Linked DNA regions of Homo sapiens: region 2 is linked to region 1. The links are contacts of gene promoters, found by promoter capture Hi-C in blood cells and fetal thymus (Javierre and others, 2016). All regions are on one chromosome and are shown on one strand. Each heading gives the region's core, a stretch centred on a gene start or on the middle of the fragment in contact. The rest is flanking DNA. Distances are from core to core; before and after follow the strand shown. Region 1 holds the start of PRKAB1 (protein kinase AMP-activated non-catalytic subunit beta 1). Region 2 overlaps ZNF664-RFLNA (ZNF664-RFLNA readthrough).

What was found. Contacts are between HindIII fragments. The CHiCAGO score rates a contact against its expected background, and 5 or more counts as called.
Region 2: a fragment that was not itself captured here is called in contact with the fragment with the promoter of PRKAB1 in region 1 in 1 of 17 cell types (total B cells); the score reaches 5.3 in total B cells.

The regions. Positions count from the first base shown.
Region 1 is chr12:119,662,997-119,669,836 of GRCh38, reverse strand. PRKAB1 (protein kinase AMP-activated non-catalytic subunit beta 1) reads right to left here and starts at 1,704. Exons shown (of 7, transcript NM_006253.5): 1 at 1,434-1,704. The coding sequence starts at 1,592. PRKAB1-AS1 (PRKAB1, TMEM233 and CCDC60 antisense RNA 1) reads left to right here and starts at 1,710. Exons shown (of 3, transcript NR_188494.1): 1 at 1,710-1,894. RefSeq lists enhancers at 374-1,009, 1,448-1,857, 3,992-4,136, a silencer at 1,958-2,227 and a cis regulatory region at 4,055-4,072. The HindIII fragment of the contact is 11,826 bases long and covers 1-6,115 here.
Region 2 is chr12:123,977,488-123,983,931 of GRCh38, reverse strand. All of the region lies in intron 2 of ZNF664-RFLNA (ZNF664-RFLNA readthrough), which reads right to left. The region is part of intron 2 of ZNF664 (zinc finger protein 664); the gene reads right to left. Among named protein-coding and RNA genes, the nearest start is that of ZNF664-RFLNA, 7.5 kb to the right of the region's middle. The HindIII fragment of the contact is 1,601 bases long and covers 3,861-5,461 here.

The DNA of each region.
Region 1 (6,840 bases), core at 455-2,954:
TTGGGCGGCCCAGGCGGGCGGATCACTTGAGGTCAGGAGTTCAAGACCAACCTGGGCAACATGGCGAAACCCCACCTCTACCAAAAATACACAAAATTAGCCAGGCATGGTGGCACACGCCTGTAGTCCCAGCTACTCGGGAGGCTGAGGCAGGATGGTTTGAGTCCGGGAGACGAAGGTTGCAGTGCCCCGAGATTGTGCTACTGCCCTCCAGCCTGGGCAACAGAGTGAGACTCCATCTCAAAGAAGGAAAAAAAAAAAATAAGTAGGGTGGGTTCAGTGGCTCACGCCTGTAATCCCAGCACTTTGGGAGGCCGAGGCAGGCGGATCTCCTGAGGTCAGGAGATGGAGACCATCCTGGCTAACACGGTGAAACCCCGTCTCTACTAAAAATATAAAAAATTAGCCGGGCGTGGTGGCGGGTGCCTGTCGTCCCAGCTACTCGGGAGGCTGAGGCAGGAGAATGGCGTGAACCTAGGAGGCGGAGCTTGCAGTGAGCCGAGATCGCGCCACTGCACTCCAGCCTGGGCGACAGAGCGAGACTCGGTCTCAAAAAAAAAAAAAAGTAGGCTGAACCGGCCAGCACCGTAGCTCACGCCTGCGATCCCAGCACTTTGGGAGGCCAAGGCATAAAGATTGCTTGAACCCGGGAGTTCGAGACCAGCCTGGAGAACATTGTGAGACCACCGTCTTTTTTATTTTTATTTATATTTTTTTTTTGAGACGAAGTCTAGCTCTGTCGCCCAGGCTGGAGTGCAGTGGCGCGACCTCGGCTCACTGCAAGCTGCGCCTCCCGGGTTCACGCCATTCTCCTGCCTCAGCCTCCCGAGTAGCTGGGACCACAGGCGCCCGCCACCACGCCCGGCTAATTAGTGAGACCACCGTCTTTTAAAAAATAAGTAGGGTGAATCAAAAGTGTTGGGCAGAACTAAACACCTCTGGCAACTGCCGTCAGCTGTTCCGCTCTACTTTCAGCTTGTATATGTACCTGGTTTGCCTCCAAAATGGATAAATTCCCAAACTAACTTTTACAAAAGCTCCAGTTTGTGTAAAGGTGAGGGAATTTGTCTCAAAGCAGTGCAATTAATTACACCTAAGAGAAAAGCAGAAGCTGGGGCTCAATTACTGTTAGCTCGACTCTGAATTAATTAAGAATTTGAAACTCTGTCCCAGAGCTGCTTTCTCCTTAATGATGTTAAACCAAGTGAGCACCTCCTCCCTCAGGGTGACTTTCTCATATTGGTAATTAGACACAGGTTCTTGGACCGCTAAGAGAACTCTTACAGGACCATCTGGCTTTTAAGTGCACCGGGTAATGTACCACCTCCCTCTCCGTTCTGGTGTTTTTCGAAAGGATGTGACGGGAATCTAGTGGAGGGTTCCTCTCCTCAACATTAGTCAAGGGGAATCGGGTTCCTCCACACCGCTCGCACCTTGATTTCCTCGGAGTGGAAGAGGTCGGCGTCTTCGGGGCTGTCCATCAGGATCTTGGGCCTGTCCCCGTCCTTGGTGCCCCCCGAGCTGTCCCTCCGGGGCGTCTTATGGCCACCATGCCGCTCCAGCGCGGCGCGCTCACTGCTGGTATTGCCCATGATGGGGGTCTGCGGGGACACAGGGAAGGCGGACGGCGCCTCACTGCAGGAAAGGGACCCTGAGCAAGGGACTCCCGGAACCGCGGGTCCCAAGGAGCCTGCGGAAGGAGTCGGAGCACCAGGACACCACGCCCCTCGGGCCGGGAGCCGGTTCCGGCTGAGTCGGCAGGGTTGCCGAGCTCTCGCAATCGCGCTTTACCTGCCCAGGCAAGCCGCGGCAAGAACGCAAGGGGCGCGAAGATAAACCGACACTTTCCCAACCGCTTCACCACCCCTCAGCGACTTCCGCTTCCGGCGACTCCGTAAGTCGGCCCGGCCTAGGGCGTGGAGGTGGCGGCGGCCAGCTAAACGCGCGAGGCTATCTCGATTCCATTTCCGCTTCCGGTCTTGAGCGGTGCGGTAACAGGTGCCCCGGGCCGTCTCTGCAGGCCTCGGAGCGCGCAGTCGCAGTCAGCAGCCGGCCGCCCAGGGCCAGGCCCAGGACGAGGCGCTGCCGAGGGCCGGCAGGGGGCACCCCAGCGCGCGGGCAATCTGAGCCGTTCATGCGCTGGGCTGAATAATGCCATTTAGCTATCTTTGCTCACTTATAGTTGATTCTACACTCTGCAGCCAGAGGGATCTTTCTAAAATGCAAATCTGATTCAGAAACTCCACTTCTTAAAGCCCTTTTAATGCACGTGTTCTCACGCTTTACAGTGCATTAGGTTAACCTGGAGCGCTTGTTAAATGCATCCCCCACTGCAGACCTGCAGAATCATGATTTCTACAGATTAGGGTCGGGGGTGCAGGCAGTCTTGCAGGTATTTGAAAAAATGGCAGACCATAAGATCTCTGGAAATTTCTTATGTCTAGTAGGTTGGGGGTTGTAAAATGCTGGAGTTATTCGTGTATTTTTATTGAGTGTGCAATCTTTTGATAGGTAATTTTGCAAGATATCTTGTAATCACTTCGGAAACATCCTTCTGCATAAGATGCATTAGCGTTTGTCATTTACTCTGGTCAGTGCTTCAACAAGAAGTGCATACAAATACGGTAGTAAAATATTCTCATCTTCTCATTGTCAGTCATTGTCATATTTTGTGGGTTTTTTGGTGTGTGAATATCTCAAAATACTTTGCATTTGCCGGGTCAGGTCATGCATTTCACCCACTGAACATTTATTTAGTACCTAAAAAAGTACCAGACATTGTGCTAAGGAAATGAGGAACACAAGATGACTAAGATAAGGTTTCCTGGGGGGAATTCAGCAGTATGCATCAAAATTTAAAAATGCACCTTCATTTTGACACACAATTTTACTCCTAGGAAACTTGTGCAGAAATACACACATGAAAATTATTTACAAGCATTATCTACAAAATATTTACATGCAAAAATATATTCTAAGATGCACTTGTCACCCCCCATGCCCCCATATATTTTAATTTCTGAAACTGGATGCTTTTTACAATAATGGAATCTTACACTTGGTGAAATAAGGAAATGAAAAACTACAAAATCCTAAAAGTTGTTCAGTAGGAGAATGGCAAAATGAATGGAATACATTCATTTTGTAGAATACCAAGCAACTTTTAAAAAGGGAGAAACCATTTTTAGGTCACTATGGGGAAGTGTCTATGATATTGCAAGGTCCGGAAGCAAGTGAGAGAACAAGTTCAAGGGCAGGAGCTCTGAATTCAGCCTGGCCATGTTCAGATTCTGGCTTTACCATTTAGTAACTGTCACCTTAGTCTCTTCTTTTGTGAAATGGGAACAAAAATAACACCTACTTCATAGGCTTGTTTTGTGAATTAATTGGGAACGTGCATAAAAATGCTGAGCATAGCACTTGACTCTTAGTAAACACTCAATAACTGTTAACACTTTTATTAGCACTATTAGGCTAGCAAATGGAAAGTTCTGGAAGGGTATACAACACATTGTTAATAGTGGTCTTCTGTGGGGAGAGGAGGGAGATTGCAAATAGGAGCAGACAGAAAAGGGACTTTCACTTTTCATTTATATAGTTCTGTATTTGAAAAGTTTTCTATTGTGAGGATGTACTACTTTTTAATTTAAAAAAATAAGATATGGTTCCAGCCCCAAAGGAATTAATACAGTACAGGCTGGCACCGACCCACAGAAAAGCAATAATATAGCTAGGTAAGGGATCCTGTGGGAGCCCAGAAGGGACTTAAGCCAGGCCAGGAAAAGGGATGGGAGCCAGGAAAAGGGATGGGAGCCAGGAGGGTCTTCCTGAAGCTGATGACTGAGAATTTGAATGTATTCAGTATAATCAGAAATGTTGAATGTGCTTGCTGAATTAAATAAGCTAAGATACTGTGGATGACCCAGGATATCTTCTTTGAGCTGCTTTTCTAATAGTGGCCCTGACTTGGTTACATGAGACAGTGGGGTGTTGAGTTTTGAAATCTCTCCCAAACAGCCGGAGAGATAAGAAAGAACACATGAGCTGTGGATTCTTTATCTGAGCTATGCAGATGCTTTGATGCATGAAGAAAGTTTTAAGACATCTGCACTAGCTTGAATAAGATAACAGTGAAAGCATGGGTGGCCCTTGATGTCAAATACAATCAACAATATCCTGAGGATGCCACCAACTGCTGATTGGAAACTCTTACCACATTGTATCAAGATTTCATGACAAAGAAACTAACATTGGTATCTATCAGCTATTGACCCCATATTGAAAATCATGGGTAGGGTAGACTCGCCAATTACAAGTGTCTACTTGGGTCCCAGCTGTGTCTCTCTTGGGTCATTTTGTGTTACTTATCTGTGTAACAATGGTTTGTGACTTTCCTAAGCATCAGAGCGTCTCATCTTTCTCTGATTCTCTGCTGATATGGATGTCAGACCATTCCATCTTGGGGGCTGGAGGTGTGCCAGGAAGTATAACTGTTAGCACATTGCTGTGTAAAAGGCATCATCTACTCACTGCTGTCTGTCTGGCACCAGGGCAAAGACAAATGATAAATACCCTAGATTCTCCCCCAAACAAACCAGGGCAATTTTAACACAGCCACAGCTAGGAGTACCCCTCCCCCACCCCCGCAACCCTGGCTTCAAATTCACTCCAGCTCCAAGCACAAAAAGAAGTAGGTTTTCAAGTCCTTAAAAGTCACCCAGAGTGAGATAAAATCTCATTTATCCTTAAATTTATGATTAAAAGGGTTAAGGATAATGTTTTGGGGCCTCCTCCATAGGATGGATTAGAATCAGTATAGCACTTCTGAACTGACCAACCCATTTGTTTTATATAAGGAAGAGTCTAAGTCCCAGAGATCGAACAGTTTTGCCTGAGGTCACTCAGATGATCATAGGTCATACTGAGACTGAATTCTGGATCACCTGGCCACTCCCCACTACATCATGGTCATGGCACCTCATCAAAAAGACCTTTGGTTCCCCAGCTGGCCTGTCTACAAACATTTGTACTGTTCTGAAGAACCCTCCCCATCTAAGAACAGCCAGGGCTCTGATCACAAATAACTCAATGGCAATATTGAGTGCCAATTATGAGCCAGGCACTGTTGTAACTCTTGGTTACAACAGTGAACAAAACCAAGTTCTTGCCCTCCAGAGGAAAGAGTCCACACACATATGCACATGTGGTGAGAACAGGCAGTGTTCTCACTAAACATCGGTAGCTGGAGGAAGAAATTTCACATTTGGACTATGCTGTAGACTAAATTGTATCCCCCCAAAATTCATACATTTGCACTCCCACTCCCAATTTTATAATGTTTGGAGGTGGGGCCTTCAAGGGGTAATTAGGGTTAGATGAGCTCATGAGAGTGGGGCCCCCATGATGAGATCAGGGTACTTATGGGAAGAAGAGACGCTGGAGAGCTTGCTCGCATGCTGTCTATTCACGCCCATGCTCAATGGAAAGGCCATGTGATGACAAAGCAAGAAGGCGGCCATCTGCAACTCAGGGAAAGAGCCCTCACCACACATCAACCATCCTGGCACCCTGATTGTATTAGGCCATTCTTGTATTGCTATAAAGAAATATTTGAGGTTGAGTAAGTTATAAAGAAAAGAGGTTTACTTGGCTTATGGTTCTGTAGGCTGTACAGCAAGCATGGCTCTGGGTATCTGCTTGCTTCTGGTGAGGCCTCAGGAAGCCAAGGGGGAGCCGATGTATTGATGTATCACATGGCAAGAGTGGGAGTAAGAAAAAAAGTGGGAGGAGGTGCCGCACGCTTTTAAACAACCAGATCTTGTGAGGGCAGCACCAAGACGATGGTGCTACACTATTCATGAGAAGTCCACCTCCATGATGCAGTCACCTCCCACCATGTTGGAGGCCTCACCTCCAACATGGGATTACATTTCAGTGTAAGATTTAGGGGGAAAAGTATCCAAATTATATCACTGATATTAGACTTCCAGCTTTCGGACCTGGGAGAAGTAAATCTCTGTTGTTTAAGCCACCCAGTTGATGATTTGTTATAGCAGTCTGAGCTGACTAAGACAGACTCAAATGTGTGTGGGCTGCTAGGATAGAATTACAAGCTTACTTTTAGGGCTTAACCAGATTTCCACCAGGCCTTCTGAATTTTGCCTAGCCAATGTAAGTAACACTGCCAATGTTTGAGAAACTTGTCCATCTTTTCTTGCTAGACATTCTTGTGTTCTCTTTGCACTGAGATGTGAATATTGTGACAGAGAGTCATCAACATAGAATTAAAAGAAGTTCATTCTACAGCATTTGGTCTACAACCTTAATTGGCAAATAGCCTCATTTTGTGACTTTTAGGTTGTCTGAGAAAATTCTGTTTCTTGACCTGGGTTGGTAATTATTAACATGTTTGCCTTGTAGTAACTTACTAAGCCATACATTTCTTTTGTGTAGTTTCCTGTATCTTTATTTTATTTTCAATAAAGTTTTTTTTAAATAAATAGCTTCACTCACAGGGTAAGCTGAAACCTAGAAGGGAGAAGTGCCCAGTTCAAGGTAACACAATGTTCTTAATAAAGTTCACCTCAAGTCTATCCTCTTTTTTTTTTTTTTTGAGATGGAGTTTCACTCTTTTCACTCAGGCTGGAGTGCAGTGGTGCAATGTCGGCTCACTGCAACCTCCGTCTCCCGGGTTCAAGCGATTCTTCTGCCTCAGCCTCCCAAGTAGCTGGGACCACAGGCGCACCCCACCACGCCTGGCTACTTTTTGTATTTTTAGTAGAGACGGGGTTTCACCATGTTGGCCAGGCTGGTCTCAAACTCCTGACCTCAGGTGATCCA
Region 2 (6,444 bases), core at 3,412-5,911, 4.3 Mb before region 1:
CATGCAACCCGCTTTGTGCAGGTTCTCTGATTCTAACTGTGAGTCTGGAGGCTTACCACAAGGTCCTAGTCCTATCACAATGTAAAGTTATAGTATTAAAAGTAATTTATTGAACATCGGTTAACTGAGAAACTTGACATGTTTTCTAGCCAACACCGAGTACTTTGAATCAATGAAATATTCTTAAACCCCCATCAGGCTCAATCCTAAACATATTTGAACTACACATCCAAAAGTGATATTTTGAAAGCCAGAGGGACATACAGGATTTACTCTGCAGAAGAAAAATGGTTCCAATTATTTCTATGAACTGTTGTATTGTTAACCTAAGTGGCAGAGTTCATCATCTTTGGGACAGGGGTCTGCTCTGGCTATAAAGGCTTCCTCACAAGCTCTGTCACAATATCATAGAACACACTGCAAAATAAGATATGGAAATAACCTATGATTATTTTATGAACTTTCAGGGGTATGAAAAATAAATGAGTTCTAGAATAGCTTTACTGAATTTCTTATAATGTATCAAGTGACACAAGAGACACTGTGTATTTCAGAATCAGAATAAAGGTGTAGAAATGTTTTAGCGTTAAAAAGCAATACGAATTATATTTTTAAAATTACATTTTGAATGCTTCTGCTACATCTTCAAAATTAAATTGTATTTTAAAAATTCTCTTCTTTCAGTGTCTTACAAATGAGTAATCATAGCCATTGGTTCCACCTTGTGACTCTCCCACATGGATTAGCTGTAGCACAACTTGCTTGCTTTCTTTTTTTATTTTTTTGAGACAGGGTCTCGCTCTGTCACCCAGGCTGGAGTACAGTGGCGTGATCATGGCTCACTACAGCCCTGCCTTCCAGTGATGCTCCCACCTCAGCCTCTTAAGTAGCTGGAACCACAGGTGTGTGCCACCATGCCTGGCTAATTTTTGTATTTTTGGTAGAGACGGGGTTTTGCCATGTTGCCCAGGCTGGTCTCAAACTCCCAGCCTCAAGCCATCTGCCTGCCTTGGCCCCTCAAAGTGCTGGGATTACAGGCATGAGCCACCATGCCCAGTAGACACAACTTTCAACCTGGGCTGAAAGACTTCAATTTGCTAAATCTAAGATTCACTCCTGATCCCTTTATTACATCTCTAGGCCGTTTGAAACTACTGCTCCTGTCCATTCTTGAAACTTTCTAACTTCCAGGACGTCTCTCCTGAGTGTCCTCGTCTGCACTCCCTTCTAGCCAGTCCACCAGGCTCACACTAAATGAATCTGCTCCTGTAAGCGCTGCAACAGTAAAACCGATACGGTGAGCGTGGAACCCAAGCTAAGCCAATCAGATTGTCCTTCTAGAGAATTTGGAATTGGGAAGTGGGAAGTGGAAAGACTGGGTCTGTGATGTGAGCTGGCAGAAGTTAGAGTTTCAGAATGGCCTTCCAGAGTGACCACCTGGGGTCACGTGTTATTTACTGCCAAGCGAGAGAAGAGATTAGGGGGAGGGCAGGCACACATAGAAGCATAGGGCAGACACACAGTGAGCAGGAGAAGCCTGGGAGATGAAGGCAAAGAGCACAGCCACACTGACTGCCACCAACTTCCCAGCGACTGGGCCCCAACCTCTGATGAAGACATCTACCTTCCTCTCTAATGACTTCTGTTACCTTGGCAGGCACTTTCTCCGCTACCTTTTCTCCACTTGTCCTTCAAGGTACCCATGCTCCAGCCATACTATTAACAGCCAGGTGGGCACTCACACATGGATGAAAGGGCACCACTCTGCCTATTTCCTGGCCTGCCCCTACGTGGAAGGGACCAGTTTACCAAGATGAAGAGAAATCACTCCCAGAAGTCAGGTGTACTCTGACAACAGGATGACTGACAAAAGGACCACTAATGCCCAGAGGAACCTCCACCACCCACTCAGAGAGGCAAGAGTCTACCCAATGAACCCCAAAGACAATCATGGTATTATCTGAAGTCGAGGTCATGCAGTCTCAAATAATTCTATGTGAAAAATATCAATGGTCCAGTCTATCTAGACAGATATGCCCCAATTTACAGAAGTACAACTATATTGCAAGAAAAATTTACCATGTAGAAATATTGATTTTAATACCATAGCTATGTATAGTATCTAGTCATTCTTACAGCAAAACATGTGTACTGTAAAATTATTCTTTGTAAATCCTCTTCGTGACACACCTATGTGTCCTATAAGACCTTCAAACTCAAGTACATCCAAAACTGAATCAGTCACTTCCTCACCAAAGCCTACTATATTCCTGTCTTAATCTGTTTTCTATTGCTTACAAGAGAATACCTGAAACTGGATAATTTATGAAGAAATTTATCTCTTACAGTTATGGAGGCTGAAAAAGCCCAGGACCACATCTGGTGACAGCTCTCCTGCTGGTGGGGACTCTCCAAAGAGCCCTGAGCCGGCACAGGGCATCACACGATGAGAGGGGGCTGAGCATGTTAACATGCTGTCTCAGATCTCTTTTCTTTTTATAAAGCCCCCAGGTCCCCTCCCATGACAACCCATTAATCTATGAATGGCTCTGCCCTCATGAGCCAAACCTCTGAAAGGCCCCACCTCTCAACACTGTCACATTGGGGATTAAGTTTCAACATGAGTTTTGGAGGGGACAAATATTCAAACCATAGCCAATTCCCAACTATAGTAAATGAGTCCACTCTCCCCTCAATTGCCCAAGTCAATATCATTGACTTCCCCCCATCACAAAGGTCTAGCCACTCTCTTCCAAATACCTCTGGAAACTCTCCACTGTGTACCTGCATTGTCTCAACTTAACTCAAGCCACCATCATCTTCCCTGGAATTCTACAAAAGCCTCCAGTCTTGCTTCCCTCTAATCCATTATCTACTCTAATGTAACCTTCTAAAATGCAAAATGGATTGTTCTTACCCTACTCACAAGTTTTCAATGGGTCCCAATCATTTTCAGTGTAAATTCCAAATTTATTCATTGGCTTTAACCAAAAAAAAAAGTGCTCATGTCTATTTGCCATGTAGCTATCATGTCCCAGATATACTTTGTTAAATCAAATGTTCCATCATACATGTAATACAGGTACATGTAATCTTGGCAAATACAAAAAAGATTATTTAAATCACCCGACATCCTACCGAATTCCACAATTCTTAAGATTTCCATCTAATTTCTTCTACATATTTTTGCCATTCATAGGTTTTACTGGAAGGCTGCTGGGACTTTTTTTGGGGCGTTTTCATCATATCAGGTATACAATTGTGTATCCTGATTTCCTTCCACTTAACACTATCATAAGCATTTTAATATATTTTCTTCATAAACGTTTTTAATGGCAATGTTATTTGCCACTAAATATATGATATAGGGGATGTATCATAACCATTCTGCAAACTGTGCCCATAAATATAATTCTACAATATACATATTTTGTGCAGAAAGCTTTTCTCTGTATTTAAAAATATTCTTTTGATGGTTCCTAGACCATCAAGAAATGTAAATAATTTTAAGACTCTTGACACATATGGCCAATGTAACATAAGAGTGTGTCATTTTTACCACATCCTTTTAGGTACTAGGCACTGTATATTTTTGTCTAAATCTAGACCTTCATGAAATTGGTGAGAAATTGTAACATCTTCCTTACAAAAGTAAATGCCCATTGTAAAAAAAACTGAAGCAATGCAAACACATGTGATATGAAAAACCAGTCTCCCCTAGGCTTTTCCCATGAAGTAATCAGAATTAAATGTTTTCAGGTATTCTAGTCTTTTTCTAATTCTTATTCAGAATATATATATATACACACACTCACCCTTCATTATTTTGTTTTGTATCTTACAAAAAATGAGATTAAGCTTGCTTTTTTGGCTCAACAGTATATTCTAGACATCCATACAGGCTATGTCAGTACATACAAATCTACCTCTCTATATAAAAAACTAATAGGCTAGACATGGTGGCTCATGCCTGTAATCCCAACACTTTGGGAGGCCAAGGCGGGAGGATCACTTGAGGCCAGGAGTTCAAGACTGGCCTGGGTAACGTGGTGAGACTCCGTCTCTACAAAAAAAATTTAAAAATCAGCCAGGTGTAGTGGTGTGTGTGTGTGTGTGTGGTCCCAGCTACTTGAGAGGCTGAGGCAGATCACTTGAGCCCAGGAGGCTGAGGCTACACTGAACCACATTCCGTACCACTGCACTCCAGCCTAGGCAACAGAGCAAGACCCTGTCTCAAAACAAAACAAACAAAAAATCCCACAAAAAACAAAACGCTACTTGATATTCCACAGTATATGGGTACCAAAATTTATTGTGATTATCTTCAATTTTTCATTATAAATGACGCTGCAATAGACATTGTTTATATTAACGTATGTTCTCCTATGAAAATAGCACAGATTCCTTGAAGTGTAGCTGCTAAATCAACGTGTACTTTTATTTTGATAAAATTCTGCCAAAATTGCCATCTAAAAACTTGGAAAAATTTTATGTCCCAACAATGTATTAGGTGCCTCTTTTACATCGCTGGATAGTTTTTAATTTTTGCCTGATGCCCTCCTCCCAACAAAAAAATCTAGTTTTTAAATTTCCATTCTCTTAATCACAATGAGGTTGAATTTCTCTTCACTGTTTGAACACATTTATCTAAGAACTATTCATATCCTCAATTCATTACCTAATTTGTTAATTCTATTTATTCTTTATACATGCTACAGGTTGTTTTCCCAGTCTGTCACTCTGTAACGCTTTTTGTCACAGAATTATCAACTGTGATTATAGTCAAATTTATCAATCCTTTCATTTATGATTTTAGGTCTTGGTCTTACCTAAATGGCCTACCTAAAACACATCATTTCCAGTGTATCCTTCTACATAACAAATTCTCTTATATTTCCTTCTAATGCTTTTATAGGTTTTTTTAGTTAGTTCCTTAATCCATCTAAGTTATTTTGAATGTGAAGTAGGATCTTTCTTTCTAAATAAAGAGCCACTTATCCCTATACAACACACTGAATTATAATTTCCCAACTGTTGCAAAACACCAACTTTATCATATACTAAATTCTGATATAAAAATGGGTCTGTTACTGGATTCTACTTTGCTCCAGGCGTCAATCTGTCTATTCTTGTGTTCACCATTTATATTACTGCAGCATTTCAGTATGCTTTGACTTCTCATATAGCAAATCCCCCAACACTACTTTTCCATTAAAAACGTTTGTCATTTTTTGGCCATTCTAGGACATTTACTCCTATAAAAGAGTTTTAGAAGCAATTTATCTAGTGTCCAGAAGAATTCCCACTGGGATTTCAATTGTAATTACATTGAAATCATAGTTTAATTTGGAGGTACTGCAATCTACAATGATGCCTTCCCCTCCAGGAACAAGTCTGCCCATTTATTTAGGTTAGCTTTTAAATCATTTAGGTAAAAGTTTTTACTTCTCTTCATAAAGCTTTGGTACATTTATGTCTTACTTGTAAATGTTTTCTAGTTTTGCTGCTATTCAGAACAGAATCTAACTTTTCTATACGGTAATTAGTGATTTGATTATTAATGAATTACACAGCTTTTCCAATGTTTCACAAGTTATATTTCTATCCAGCGAACTGTCTATTCACATCCTATAACCACCTGTGTGTGGATCTTCATTATTTTCTTCACCAATTTGGATGAGTTCTTTGCATATTGAAAATACTAACTCTTAGCTTATCATTTGCCACAAATATTTTCCACTTTATGATTCGGGTTTTTTTTTTCCCTTCTCTTCCTAAAGAATAAATTTTTATGTAGTCTAATACACTAATTTTTAATTATTATTTTCTCTATTGTTTCTAATAGCAGCAGCTACTTACAGATTTGAGTGCCCTGTAGGTGCCTGGCCCTTTATCTCTTACTCTCATAACACCTGCAAAGTGGGGATAATTTTCCTCACTTAAAAGATTCCAGTTTAGACACATCTGAGTCTAAAGCATGTGCTCCATCCACCTTAGCATGTAAAACTCCTCTTTCCAGATGTTTAATATTTACTTACATTTTCTTTAGACTCAGGGGGCATTTGTGATGATTTCATTATTATTTATGACATTTCCATATAAAAAAGTTTATTTCTGGGGTGCTGAATAAGTTCCATTGACCTGTATGGATATTTTACAGCCAGAACGATACTGTTTTAATGAATGTGGCTCTATAATATGTTTAAATATATTTGTCTCACCTCATTACTCATAAGTATTCTACCACGTTCACCCCAAAATGAGCATCTCCATAACATGCAGACATCACAGCCCGGAAGATGGCCTCTCTTTCCGTTCAAGGTACCCCTTCAGACCTTTCAGGATACTTTATGGTCTCCTCCACAGAGTGCACACTTGACTCTATAAGGTTGTGCCTACACGGTTCACTTGTTTTGCTGCAACCTGGTCAGAGCCAGTTTCTTG